Regions from separate parts of the Homo sapiens genome. Here region 2 is linked to region 1. The links are contacts of gene promoters, found by promoter capture Hi-C in blood cells and fetal thymus (Javierre and others, 2016). All regions are on one chromosome and are shown on one strand. Each heading gives the region's core, a stretch centred on a gene start or on the middle of the fragment in contact. The rest is flanking DNA. Distances are from core to core; before and after follow the strand shown. Region 1 holds the start of ZIM3 (zinc finger imprinted 3). Region 2 has its middle 5.0 kb from the start of ZNF227.

The links. The method cuts DNA at HindIII sites, captures the fragments that hold promoters and counts their contacts. A CHiCAGO score of 5 or more calls a contact.
Region 2: a fragment that was not itself captured here is called in contact with the fragment with the promoter of ZIM3 in region 1 in 1 of 17 cell types (total CD8 T cells); the score reaches 5.7 in total CD8 T cells.

The regions. Positions count from the first base shown.
Region 1 is chr19:57,140,079-57,146,451 of GRCh38, forward strand. ZIM3 (zinc finger imprinted 3) reads right to left here and starts at 5,124. Exons shown (of 5, transcript NM_052882.1): 1 at 4,781-5,124; 2 at 2,551-2,607. The coding sequence starts at 2,565. The HindIII fragment of the contact is 22,671 bases long and covers 5,085-6,373 here.
Region 2 is chr19:44,204,316-44,210,756 of GRCh38, forward strand. It overlaps a transcript of ZNF227 not described here. Among named protein-coding and RNA genes, the nearest start is that of ZNF227, 5.0 kb to the right of the region's middle. RefSeq lists enhancers at 3,354-3,453, 3,464-3,513. The HindIII fragment of the contact is 4,986 bases long and covers 2,307-6,441 here.

The DNA.
Region 1 (6,373 bases), core at 3,874-6,373:
CTCTAAGAGCCAGCACCTAGTGTCCTCTTGGACAGATAAATTTTTTAGTTGTGTTTGTGCTCTAGCTCGCTTTTTTAAAATTTTGTTTATTTATTAATTTTTTTTGGCGGGGAAGGGGACAGAGGCTCACTCTGGTAGCCCAGGCTGGAGTGCAGTGGCACAATCTCGGCTCACTGCAACCTCCACCTCCTGGGTTCAAGCGATTCTCCTGCCTCAGCCTCCTGAGCAGCTGGGATTACAGGCGCGCACCACGACACCTGGCTAATTTTTGTACTTTTAGTAGAGACGGGTTTCACCATGTTGGCCAGGTTGGTCTCAAACTCCTGACCTCAAGTGATCTGCCCGCATCGGCCTCCCGAAGAGCTGGGATTAAAGGGATGAGCCACCGCACCCGGCCTTTTTTTTTAAATTTTTGACACAGGTTCTTGCTCTGCCACCCAGGCTGGAGTACAGTGGCATGATCATGGCTCACTGCAGCCTCAACCTCCCAGGATCAAGCAATCCTCCTACCTCAGCCTCCAGAATAGCTGGGACTACAGGCATGCACCACCATGCTAAGCTCATTTTTTATTATTTGTAGACAGGGTCTCACTATATTGTCCAGGCTGGTCTTGAACTCCTGGCCTCAAGTGGTCTTCCTGCCTTCGCCTCCCAAAGTGCTGGGATTACAGGTGTGAGCCACCACACCCAGCCTTAGTATGCCTTTCCTGTCAACAGGAAATTGGTCAACAGGCTTAATTTTAACAATTGCAAAGAAACTACTATCTGCCTAACTGCATACAACTTATCCTTGGTCTTTCAGCTATCCATAATTTACTTTGATTCCGACTGGTACTAGTTAATGATTTTTCAGTTTATTGTGTGGATTTACAGAATTTGTTTCAAATACACACCGAACAAAGTTGGGAGAGGACACACATTCAAGACACCAATCATTTAAAAAATAGGTTGGGGTGAAACACACATGACACTGTTACATCTCAGGGCTTAGCAGTGGACCAGGTTTGTAAGAGCAATGGTCAAAAGATGCTTGAGGCTGGGCGTGGTGGCTCACCCTTGTAATCCCAGAACTTTGGGAGGCTGAGGCGGGTGGATCACCTGAGGTCAGGAGTTCGAGACCAGCCCGACCAATATGGTAAAACCCCATCTCTACTAAAAATACAAAAATTAGCCGGGCGTGGGCGTGGTGGCGTGCGCCTGTAATCCCAGCTGCTCAGGAGGTTGAGGCAGGAGAATCGCTTGAACCTGGGAGGTGGAGGTTGCAGTGAGCCAAGATCAAGCCATTGCACTCCAGCCTGGGTGGCAGAGGGAGACTGTCTCAAAAAAAAAAAAAAAAAAAAAAACAACAAAACAAAGATGCTTGAGCTGAAACCAGCCCAGTAATCCCATAGACAGTTGTGGGTTTTTTGTTTTTTGTTTTTGTTTTTGTTTTTGTTTTTTGGATAAACATAGAAATTGACCCTTCCGCTGTTAAAGCTTGAAACCTGTATTTGTTTTGTCTGAGTTCCTTCCTCAGGAAAAGACCTTCAGATCTCTCAAAGGCAGGCAGATCACCTGAGGTCAAGATTTCGAGGCCAGCCTGGCCAACATGGTGAAGCCCCGTCTCTACCAAAAAATACAAAAATTAGCCAGGAGTGGTGGTGCGCACACCTGTAATCCCAGCAACTCAGGAGGCTGAGGAAGGAGAATCGCTTGAACCTGGGAGGCAGAGGTTGCAGTGAGCTGAGATTGCACCACTATACTCCAGCCTGGGTGACACAGCGAGACTCCCTCAAAAAAAAAAAATCAACTGAAACTCACCACAACTGAAACTCACCACAACAGATGTCTCCTTGCCCCCTCCCTAGTCTTGCTTTCTTACACATTGTTATATTTCTTCCATGCTGTATAAACCCCTAGTTTTAGTGAGTTAGGGAGATGGATTTGAGGCTGAGCTCCCATTTCTTCACCTACGGCAGCTGATTAAAGCTTCTTCCTTGGCAATACCCATTGTCTCAGTCATTGGCTTTCTGTGCAGCCAGTAGCAGGACCTAGACCAAACTCCTGGTGTTTCCGTAACCAAGCTTTTTTTTTTTTTTTTTTTGAGACAGGGTCATGCTCTGTCACCCAGGCTGGAGTGCAGTGGCACAATCATGGCTCACTGCAGCCTCAACCTCCCAGGTTCAAGCGATTCTCCCACCTCCGCCTCCAGAGTAGCTGAGACTACAGGTGTACGCCACCACCACCACACCCAGCTAATTTTTTGTAGAGACGGGATCTCGCCATGTTGCCCAGGCTGGTTTCAAACTCCTGAACTCAAGCGATCCGCCTGCCTTGGCCTCCTAGATTGCTGAATTACAGGTGTGAGCCACCATGCCCAGCCTTGAGCTTTACTTGAAATGTTTCAGCTTTAATAGGAAAGCAGAAAGTAGAGTGTGTGTTACCTTTTAATAGAAGTATGGAAGGAAGGAGGAAAATATGCCAAAAGGTTAGCACAGTTAATTCTGAGCAAGAGGAACGTGGGTCATACGTTTATTCATTATGAGATTTAGATTTTTTTGAAAAGCTCACCTGGGAATTGTTCATTTCCTGTTCTTCACCAGTCAGTAAAGTCTTGGGAAGGCAGATCTGAGGGAAAATGGAAAAGAACCATGAAATAGCAGAATTCGCTTTGGAAGTTGGGGATCATCCAGCATAGAATGCTCCACACCCTGGATAAAAGCTCTCCCTAACCCACTCAGAAAAGCCCTGACTTGTACCTCAGTGATCCCCTTCTGAAGGTCTTTTTTTTTTTTGTTTTGGTTTTTTTGTGTTTGTTTATTTATTGAGACTGGGTCTCAAAGAAGAAAGTGCAAGCCAGGCACGGTGGCTCACGCCTGTAATCCCAGCACTTTGGGAGGCTGAAGCAGGCAGATCACCAGAGGTCAGGAGTTCGAGACCAGCCTGTCCAACATGGTGAAACCCCGTCTCTACTAAAAATACAAAATTGGCTGGGCGCGGTGACTCATGCCTGTAATGCCAGCACTTTGGGAGGCCGAGGCAGGCGGATCACGAGGTCAGGAGATCAAGACCATCCTGGCCAACACGGTGAAACCCTGTCTCTACTAAAAATACAAAAACAAAATTAGCCAGGCGTGGTGGCGGGCGCCTGTAGTCCCAGCTACTCGGGAGGCTGAGGCAGGAGAATGGCGGGAACCCGGGAGGCGGAGCTTGCAGTGAGCCGAGATCGCGCCACCGCACTCCAGCCTGGGCGACAGAGCGAGACTCCGTCCCAAAAAAAAAAAAAAAGAGAGAGAGAGAAAGCTAAACAGCAGTTCAACAGCACCTTTAAAACAAGCCTGTGCAAAGACAATGAGGCAAGCATCAGATCAGCTAGAGCACAGTAAGGAAGGCCGAGAGCAGAAACCATGAATCCTGAAGCAGCTGTGGTCGTGACGAATAACGCCGCAGTGAACATGGGATGCAGATAGCCCTTCAGCTTTGCCATAAGCGGGACAGCTGGATCATTGGTAATTCTTTGCCAAAAGCGTAGATTTTGGCCACGCGTGGCAGCTCACACCTATAATCCCAGCACTTTGGAAAGCCAAGGTGGGAGGATCAGTTGAGCCCAGGAGTTACTTTTTTTTTTTTTTTTTTAAGACCAAGTCTTGCTCTGTCGCCCAGGCTGGAGTGCAGTGGCACAGTCTCGGCTCACTGCAACCTCTGCCTCCCGGGTTCAAGGGATTCCCCTGCCTCAGCCTCCCGTGTAGCTGGGATTACAGGCATGCACCACCATGCCCAGCTAATTTTTGCATTTTTAGTAGAGACAAGGTTTTACCATGTTGTTCAGGCTGGTCTCGAGCTGCTGATCTCAAGTGATCCGCCGGCCTCAGCCTCCCAAAGTGCTGGGATTATAGGCGTGAACCACCACATCCAGCCAAGCCCAGGAGTTTGAGACCAGCCTGTGCAACATAGTGAAACCTCTGTCTCAATGTTTAAGTAATAAAGTTTTTATTTTTTATTTTATTTTATTGAGGCAGGGTCTCATTCTGTCACCCAGGCTGGAGTGCAGTGATGTGATCCCGGCTCACAGCAGTTTAAAAATCCCTGGCTCAAGCAATCCTCCTACCTTGGCCTCCTGAATAGTTAAGACTATGGGTGCATGCTACCACATCAGCTAACTTTTTATTTTTTGTAAAGAAGGGATCTTGCTATGTCACCTAAACTGGTCTCAAACTCCTAGGCTCAAGCAATCCTCCTCCCTCAGCCTCCCCAAATCCTGGGATTACATGCATGAGCCACCACACCAGCCAGGAATAAAGTTTTAAATAAGTAAATATGTTTTTAAAAAGAATAAACTTGCCGGGCACAACTTTAATGTTTATTAAAGTTTGAGGAGTCCAATTCTAGCACAAAAAATATATATAATTTTAAAAAACAGTAAATTGTAAATGCTTTCACCACAAAAATAGATTAATTAGCTTGATTTAATCATCCCCCCAATGTAAACATGTATCAAAACATCACATTGTACCCCATAAATAAACACAATTATTATTTGTCAATAAAAAGTTTTTAGAAGTAGCTGTGGGCCAGCAGTAATGCTAAGGACTGGAGGGCCACGAAAATAATTTTGAGTGTCCTGGGAGCATCACTTTTCAATATGACAACTAAAAAAAAAATCTAAACTACCAATGTAAAATATTTAGCTTATTCCAGCAAATAGGAGAGGTAGAAAAATGAAACTAAGTAAAAATGCAAAACAAACAAACAAACAAAACCCAGACATTTGGTTTTCAGGGAGAAAAAAAAATCAGCTTACCTCCAGTGGAATCTGGCATAAATTAGCAAGTTGATTGATTTCTGATGCCTGTGGTCTTTTCTTCTGAAAGGGACTGAAAATGAAAAGGCGTGTATACTGAAAAGCTACACTAATGACTAAAACTTAATCGGCCCTCTACCCGCTGTATTCCGCATCATAATCCAGTCAAGAAACAACCCAAAACACTCACTTCCTATCAAAAGCCCCACCTGATCCTATCAGGCCACATCAAAATTTCAATTCCCAATTCTTTCCTCGACTTCTCCAAAACTGAATGAACTCTCATAAAAATTGTGATTGTGAAAGCTTAATTTTCAAATCTGCCCAATCAGTTTCCAATGGAATTTTTTTTAAGTTCATGCAAGTAAAAATTTTTTACCTTAACTTTGAAATAGAAAGCATGGAAAACATTATCCAAATGTCAGAGGATGAAAATAAATTAAAACAACAAAAATTGGCTGGGCACGGTGGCTCATGCCTGTAATCCCAGCACTTTGGGAGGACAGGAGTTCAAGACCAGCCTGGCCAACATGGGGAAACCCCGTCTCTACTAAAAATACAAAAATTAGCTGGTCATGGTGGCACGTGCCTGTAATCCCAGCTACTTGGGAGGCTGAGGCAGGAGAATCGCTTGAACCCGGGAGACGGAGGCTTCAGTGAGCCAAGATCGTGCCACTGCACTCCAGCCTGGGCAATGAGCGAGACTCCATCTCACGTCTCAAAAAAAAAAAAAGAAAGGAAAAGAAAAAAGAAATAGGGCCAGCGGAGGTGGAACAATGCCTTAAAGTGCTCTCCGCCCGACAGAAAGAATTCAGGCTCCAACCTCCAACTGGCAAAATCTCTTCAGCTGTACTAATACTCTCAAAATGAGATCAACATGCCAATCCATCCCCACCCTAGTCTGGGTGTTGAATTTAAACACAGGCTACATGCCCTTGCCTGCAGACATGGAGACCTTCCAAAATTGAGCGTCCAACTGAATTCCAAGAGATTAAACCAGACTTCATGGGACAGGATGCACCAGACTAGACCTCCTCCCAGGAGAAGAGGTATCCAAAGATCGTATTAGCAAATGACCCTTGGCGGTGTGCGGTGGCTCAAGCCTGTAATCCCAACACTTTGGGAGACTGAGGCAGACAGATCACCTGAGGTCAGGAGTTCAAGACCAGCCTGGTCAACATGGTGAAATCCTGTCTCTACTAAAAATACAAAAATTAGCTGGGCATGGTGGTACACACCTGTAGTCCCAGCTACTCAGCTACTCAAGAGGCTGAGGCAGAATTGCTTGAACCCAAAACACAGAGGTTGCTGTGAGCTGAGATCATGCCACTGCACTCCAGCCTGGGCGACAGAGGGAGACTCCATCTCAAAAAAAAAAAAAAGAAAAAAAAAGCAAAATGACCCAGCCAGCCTGAATCCCAGCCGCCGTGTCGGACTACTATAGTCCCAGATACTTGGAAGGCTGAGGTGGGAGGATCAATTGAGCCCAAGAGGTCAAGGCTGCAGTGAGCAAGGATCTTGCCACTGCATTCCAGCCTGAGAGACAGAGCAAGCCTGCAGGTGAACGGAAAGGGGTGGAGTGATTTTATATAT
Region 2 (6,441 bases), core at 3,550-6,049, about 13 Mb before region 1:
TACCCAACAGCTCATTGAGAACGGGCCATGATGACGATGGCGGTTTTGTTGAATAGAAAGGGGGGAAGTGTGGGGAAAAGAAAGAGAGATCGGGTTGTTACTGTGTCTGTGTGGAAAGAAGTAGACATAGGAGACTCCATTTTGTTCTGTACTAAGAAAAATTCTTCTGCCTTGGGATGCTGTTAATCTATAACCTTGCCCCCAACCCCCTGCTCTCTGAAACATGTGCTGTGTCCACTAAGGGTTAAATGGATTAAGGGCAGTGCAAGATGTGCTTTGTGAAACAGATGCTTGAAGGCAGCATGCTCGTTAAGAGTCATCACCACTCCCTAATCTCAAGTACCCAGGGACACAAACACTGCGGAAGGCGGCAGGGCCCTCTGCCTAGGAAAACCAGAGACCTTTGTTCACATGTTTATCTGCTGACCTTCCCTCCACTATTGTCCTATGACCCTGCCAAATCCCCCTCTCGGAGAAACACCCAAGAATGATCAATAAATACTAAAAAAAAATAAAAATAAAAATAAATAAATTAAAAAAATTTAATAAAAAACAATCAATACATCAAAAAAAGAAATATCAAAAAATACCAAATAGTAGGTATTGCTGTGTCTCAAATGCATAAGGTATTAATATTCGTGGTATATAATCCAAGTGAACAAGGAAAATATAGCACCCATAACAGAAGAAAAGGGCATAAATATACAGTTTACAGAATAGGCTGTAAAGTATTTTGAAGAAATGCTCAAACTTATTAAAAATCAGAGAAATTTGATTAAAACAGTGAAATACCAGTATGTGTTTAATGGAGTGGCAAGACATAGGATGATGGTTCATGGCAAATGATGGTATGGAAATGGGTGGTTATACAACAAACTGTATTCAGTGCTCATGAGAATGTGGAATGGTTTAACCATTCAGGAGAGCAATATAGCTATTAATATTATTTGTAAATGTGTAAGTATATGACTCTGCTATGAACCAACAACTACACTTATGGATATGTGTCCTAAATAAATTGTCACACATTTCTATGAAGATGTATAGTGATGTTCCTAGCATTGTTATTGCCAATGGCAATCCAGGTTTCTGTCATGGAATAGTAAAATATTTTGGGTGTAAACAATTAGTTCTATAAAATAGGTTAATGTATGCTAGAAACATGGATGAATCTTTAAAACATACTGCTGAGTTTTGAAAGTCTTAACATTTATTTTTATGACATAATACCACTTATATAAACTAAAAGTGTGCACACACAACCACATCACATGCACTTTGCACAAAACACACACAAAGAGAAACACAACAAACAAAATATGGGGCTGGGGGAGGAAATGAAAGTGTTCCATAGGGAAAAGAAAGGAATAAATAAATAATAAAATTATTTTGACCAAGTTGCTAGATATAAGCTTCAGTACAATTTGATTAGAAGTGGTGATATTCAGCATTTTCTTCCCATTCTCATTCTCAGAGATAAATTTTCAACATTTTGTTAATTGTTGTGTATGTTCATTTTAGTTTTAAGTGGGAATTTATATTTCTTAAATGTATCATCATAATGTTCCTCATAATATTCTCAATATATTTAGTGATGTTCCCTTTTACTTCTGAAACTGGTAATATGTCATTTCTGTCTTTTTTGTTTACTGTCACTGGACTTTGTCAGTTTTATTGTTCTATTTATAGAATGATCATTTTACTTTTTAAGATCCACTCCATTTCGTTTTCTATTTCATGTATTTCCTATTATCTTGATCATTTCTTTCCATCTACCCACTGTGGTTTTGGTATTTGTTTATTGAATTCCTGAGATAAATGTTTTTATTTTTTTGTTCAGCTTTTCTCCTGTTTTAGGACAGATGCTCCTCAACTTACAGTGGGCTCACATTCTGATGAACTTACCTACCGTAAGTTGAAAGTATCCTAAGTCGAAAATGCATTTAATACACCCAATCTACCAAACATCATAGCTTAGGCTAGCCTGCCTTAAAGGTGCTCATGACGTTTATATTAGCCCCCAGTTGGGCAAGGTTTTTTGTTTTGTTTTGTTTTGAGAGGGAGTCTCGCTCTCTCGCCCAGGCTGGAGTGCAATGGCTCGATCTTGGCTCACTGCAACCGCCGCCTCGCAGGTTCAGGTGATTCTCTTGCCTCAGCCTCCAGAGTAGCTGGGACTACAGGTGCGCACCACCACGCCCGACTAATTTTCATAGTTTTAGTAGAGACAGGGTTTTGCCATATTCTCCAGGGTGGTCTCAAACTCCTGACCTCAGGTGATCCAAGGGCAACGTTATCTAGCAAAAAGAAGCTTATTTCATAATAAAGTGTTGAATATCATATAATTTATTGAATAGGTATTGAAAGGGAAAAACAGAAGGGTTGTATAGGTACTGTACTGAATGTGTGTTGCTTTCACACCATCATGAAGTCGAAAAATCTTAAGTGAACCATTGTTAACTCCAGGACCTGTATATGATTTCAAGGCTTTCTATGTTTCCTTCTAATCATGTATTAAAAGCTCTCCTGTTTATCAGTGTTTTTCTCCTTATGAGTCTGTCAATCAATTTTTCTTTATAAAGTTTGCTTTACATTATGTAAGGCTGTTATAGTTGATAGAAAATTTTCATTACTATGAAGTGTTTCTTTGTATATCTTAAAATGTTCTTTTCTTCAAGGACTATTGTACTTTGTCCAATATTAATATATTTTAAAATTAGAGAAAGAATATGAGGCCTAGGACGATAGTCTCTTTCTCCATTAGAATATTTTTGTTTATGTCAGGTACCTGCAAACACTAACAGAAAAGGTTTACTTTAATCTATTTTCAGGTACGAATGTGATTTCAAGTTTTGCTTCAGTCCCCTAGTGAAGATGATCTATTTGCCCTTTATCTTTACTCCTGTAGTGCAGCTCTTTGGGTTTTACTAGGTACCCTTCTCCCGATCCCCAACTTCTTCCCCAAGGCCCTTGAACAACAGAATCGGTAGGTACCACCAAGACAGACACTTCCACTCTAAAATTGCAAATCTTGGCTAAGATTTGCTCTGGCTTTCTAGGATACCCGGAAGCTCAGGTTACTCGGAAGTATTTCCGCTCCAAGGAGCGGAACTATGGCCGGTTTCCCCTGGGGCATTCTGGGAAGTGTAGTCAGGGGCCCGCGTAGCCTGGGGCACTTCCGCTTTTGGATGGCGGAGCTAGGGAATTGTGGGAAGTGATCCGGGGTTTCTCTTTAGTTGCTGGGAAGTTTTTTCGCTCTAGGAGGGCGAAAACAAGTGTTTGGATCCGCTGGGACCCTCCAAGTTTTCTCAGCCTCGTCAGGGAGCAAGCGGGGCCCTGGCCCTCGTCTGGAGGAAGGCTAGAGAAGCTGTGGCCAGCTGGGAGGCTGGAGTTGGGAGCAGTTTGTGTTCTTTCCTCTCGGCTGAGCCTCACGTTTGGAGCAGTTCTTGCGTCCCCGGGTTGGGAGCGTCCTGGATCGGTTGTCGCTTGGTTAGAGGGTCTCCTGGCGTTCCGCAGCCAGCCTCTCCCACCTACTTGCCAGCTCTGCCACTTACTAGTGTTATAACGTTTTGTGAGTTAATCTTAATCTTTCTCTATCCCATTCTCCTCATTCCTGAAGTAGAGTCATTAGTAGGAGGTCCTTGTACTTTTATACGAATTATTCATTAAATGTCCAAAATACCGTTATGTGGTAGGTACCACTTATGTTCTAACAGAGAGACGAAGATAATAGACCTCTCCACACAATGTAGAAAAGAAAGCTGTCTTATTACTGAATAAGGACAACCACTGTATAGTATTGTAGGCAATCTAAAGAAAAATATTATTAAAAAATTCCGCCCTATGTGTACAGTCAAGCAGTTTTAAACTTTTTATACAATTCTACTTTTGACCACTATGTACATCAGTTCTCAAGATTAATGATTTTTCAATAAGAGGACTTGGTCTCATCATTTACTGCAAATTCTTTTATAAATTTATTCTAAATTTACTTGAGAATCCAGTGTTAGTTAACTAACTTTATCGAAAGTAATAAAACTTCTCTTACCTCATCTGCTAGCCGATTTACAGTTTAAAGAGAGGCACCTTGGTTAAACTCTTGCAGTGATAGGGACAGTGGGTTGTTATTTTCTCAGATGTTTATATTCAAAAGGGACAAATCTCAGAACTTTCACAAATACTTCTAGGTTGTAAACCTGGCTAGAGGCTTACATAGCCGCTAATGAAATTTACATGCGTATCAAAAGGTTAGAGAAAGGATTCAGAAGCACTAGGTTTCTTATGGAAATGCTCTAAGAAAAAGAAGAGGGAAGACGAACCCTAAAACGTACAGTTAGTAAGAGGCAGAACGTCCATATGAACCCAAGAAGTTGGAGCCTCAAGTCTGTGTTCATATTCTCCACGCTGTACATTTTTCTTAGAACCATATGAAATAATCGTGTATATGGTTTGTGGAAGTCTTTTTCTATCAGGTTTGGAAGGTGATCTGGGGCTTTAGAGTCTATATTCTCCTTATAGAAATAATGCATGACCATTATAGAGAGATTAGAAAATACAGAAATGTATAAAAGGAAATGAAAGTTACCCATATTCACTGCTGTATATTTAAACAATTAGCTGGGTGTGGTGGCACATACCGATAGTCCCAGCTACTTGGGAGGCTGAGGTGGGAGGATCGCTTGAGCTCAGGAGTTTGAAGCTGCAGTGAGCTATGACCACGGCACTGCACTCCAGCTTGGATGACAGCGAGACCCCGTTCCTTTAACCCATAATCTCAGGATTTAGAGATAACCACTGCTAACATTTTAAATGCATTTATGCATTGGTGCCATACCACCCACATGGTATTTCTCTAATTTTTCTTGTAGAAATTCCCAAACATGCACATACAGAAAATAGTGTTAATGACCCCCACCCCGCCATCATTTGTCTTTAACTCTTGTAAACATTTTGTCTATCTTATTGCATCTATTACTCTTCTCCCACATATGTTTTTGGTGGGAAGAGGAGGAATTTGACTATTTAAAATCAAAACCAAATCCTAGTCAGTCGGTAGAAATTAAAAGTAATTAACATAAAGTAATTATGAATGAAGAGCAAAGGAAAGCAAATAACTTCAGGGTTTTCTTTCCTGGCAACTAGGAGGAAGGTAGTTATGTGAAAAACCTAAAGGAGAGGGAATCATTGAGATTTGGAAAGGAATAGTTATGAATTTGGCTTCTTTATTTGGAATGTTTTACTCAGGGTCTTTTATTTATTTATTTATTTATTCATTTTTATTTATTTATTTTTGAGACGGAGTCTCGCTCTGTCGCCCAGGCTGGAGTGCAGTGGCGCGATCTCGGCTCACTGCAAGCTCCACCTCCCGGGTTCACGCCATTCTCCTGCCTCAGCCTCCTGAGTAGCTGGGACTACAGGCGCCCATCACCACACCCGGCTAATTTTTTGTATTTTTAGTAGAGACGGGGTTTCACCGTGTTAGCCAGGATGGTTTCGATTTCCTGACCTCGTGATCTGCCCACCTCGGCCTCCCAAAGTGCTGGGATTACAGGCGTGAGCCACAGAGTCCGGCCTACTCAGGGTCTTTTAGATCTGATCTGTTTCTCCCTTAGGCTGCATGTTACTTTGTTGCAGGAACTATGTCCCATTCTTTACCATGTGCTTAGCACCCAGCACAAGACTGGTAAGGAGGGGTTTAGTGTTTGTGGTTTGTGGAGCTGCCCAGTATCTTGAAATGGAAACCTGCAGATCATTTAGATTGTATTCAGAATTCCCAAAATGGATTTAGGAAAAAATAAAAGGAAATAATGTCAATATTAGTGACTCTTTATCTCACTTTTGGTGGGATGCATTTGCATAGTCTTCTAGTTTTTTTCCCAGTAATCAAAAGTTGATGCATGGTTATTGATAATATTTTAGTGATCAAAGCAAATTTTTGTAGAAACCTTCCATCCATAATTTATGTGTCCTGTGTTTATCCCCTGAGGTTAACATTTGCTAACTTTTTATAGGGTAGTCATGAATCAGGCAGAATTTCCAGTGTTTTACATGTATTTATTCATTTGTACTTGATATCAACCCTATTATAGTCTCCATTTTACAAATGAAGAAAAAGGGGACAGAAGAAATGGAAGCACTAGTATTTTAATCTAGATAGCTTTATACTAAGGCTGTAATATTAGCTACTACACACTACTTTTATTAGTCTACAAGGCAAGAACCCACAGTAAGTCTTATTAGAGCAGGGAATATTTAAGCTATGGATGAAGACCGTCACCCAGGAGGGAAAAGAGTAGCAGGTTATGACAGAAGGAACACCAAATACAAAGAATTAGAGGCTTTTTGTAGGAGTACAAGTAATCCACTATGGCTGGACATGTAGAGTGGAAAGTGGATTCCAAGAGAGAAACAGCATCTGGAAAATTCCTGTTTGTGCGACTTGTT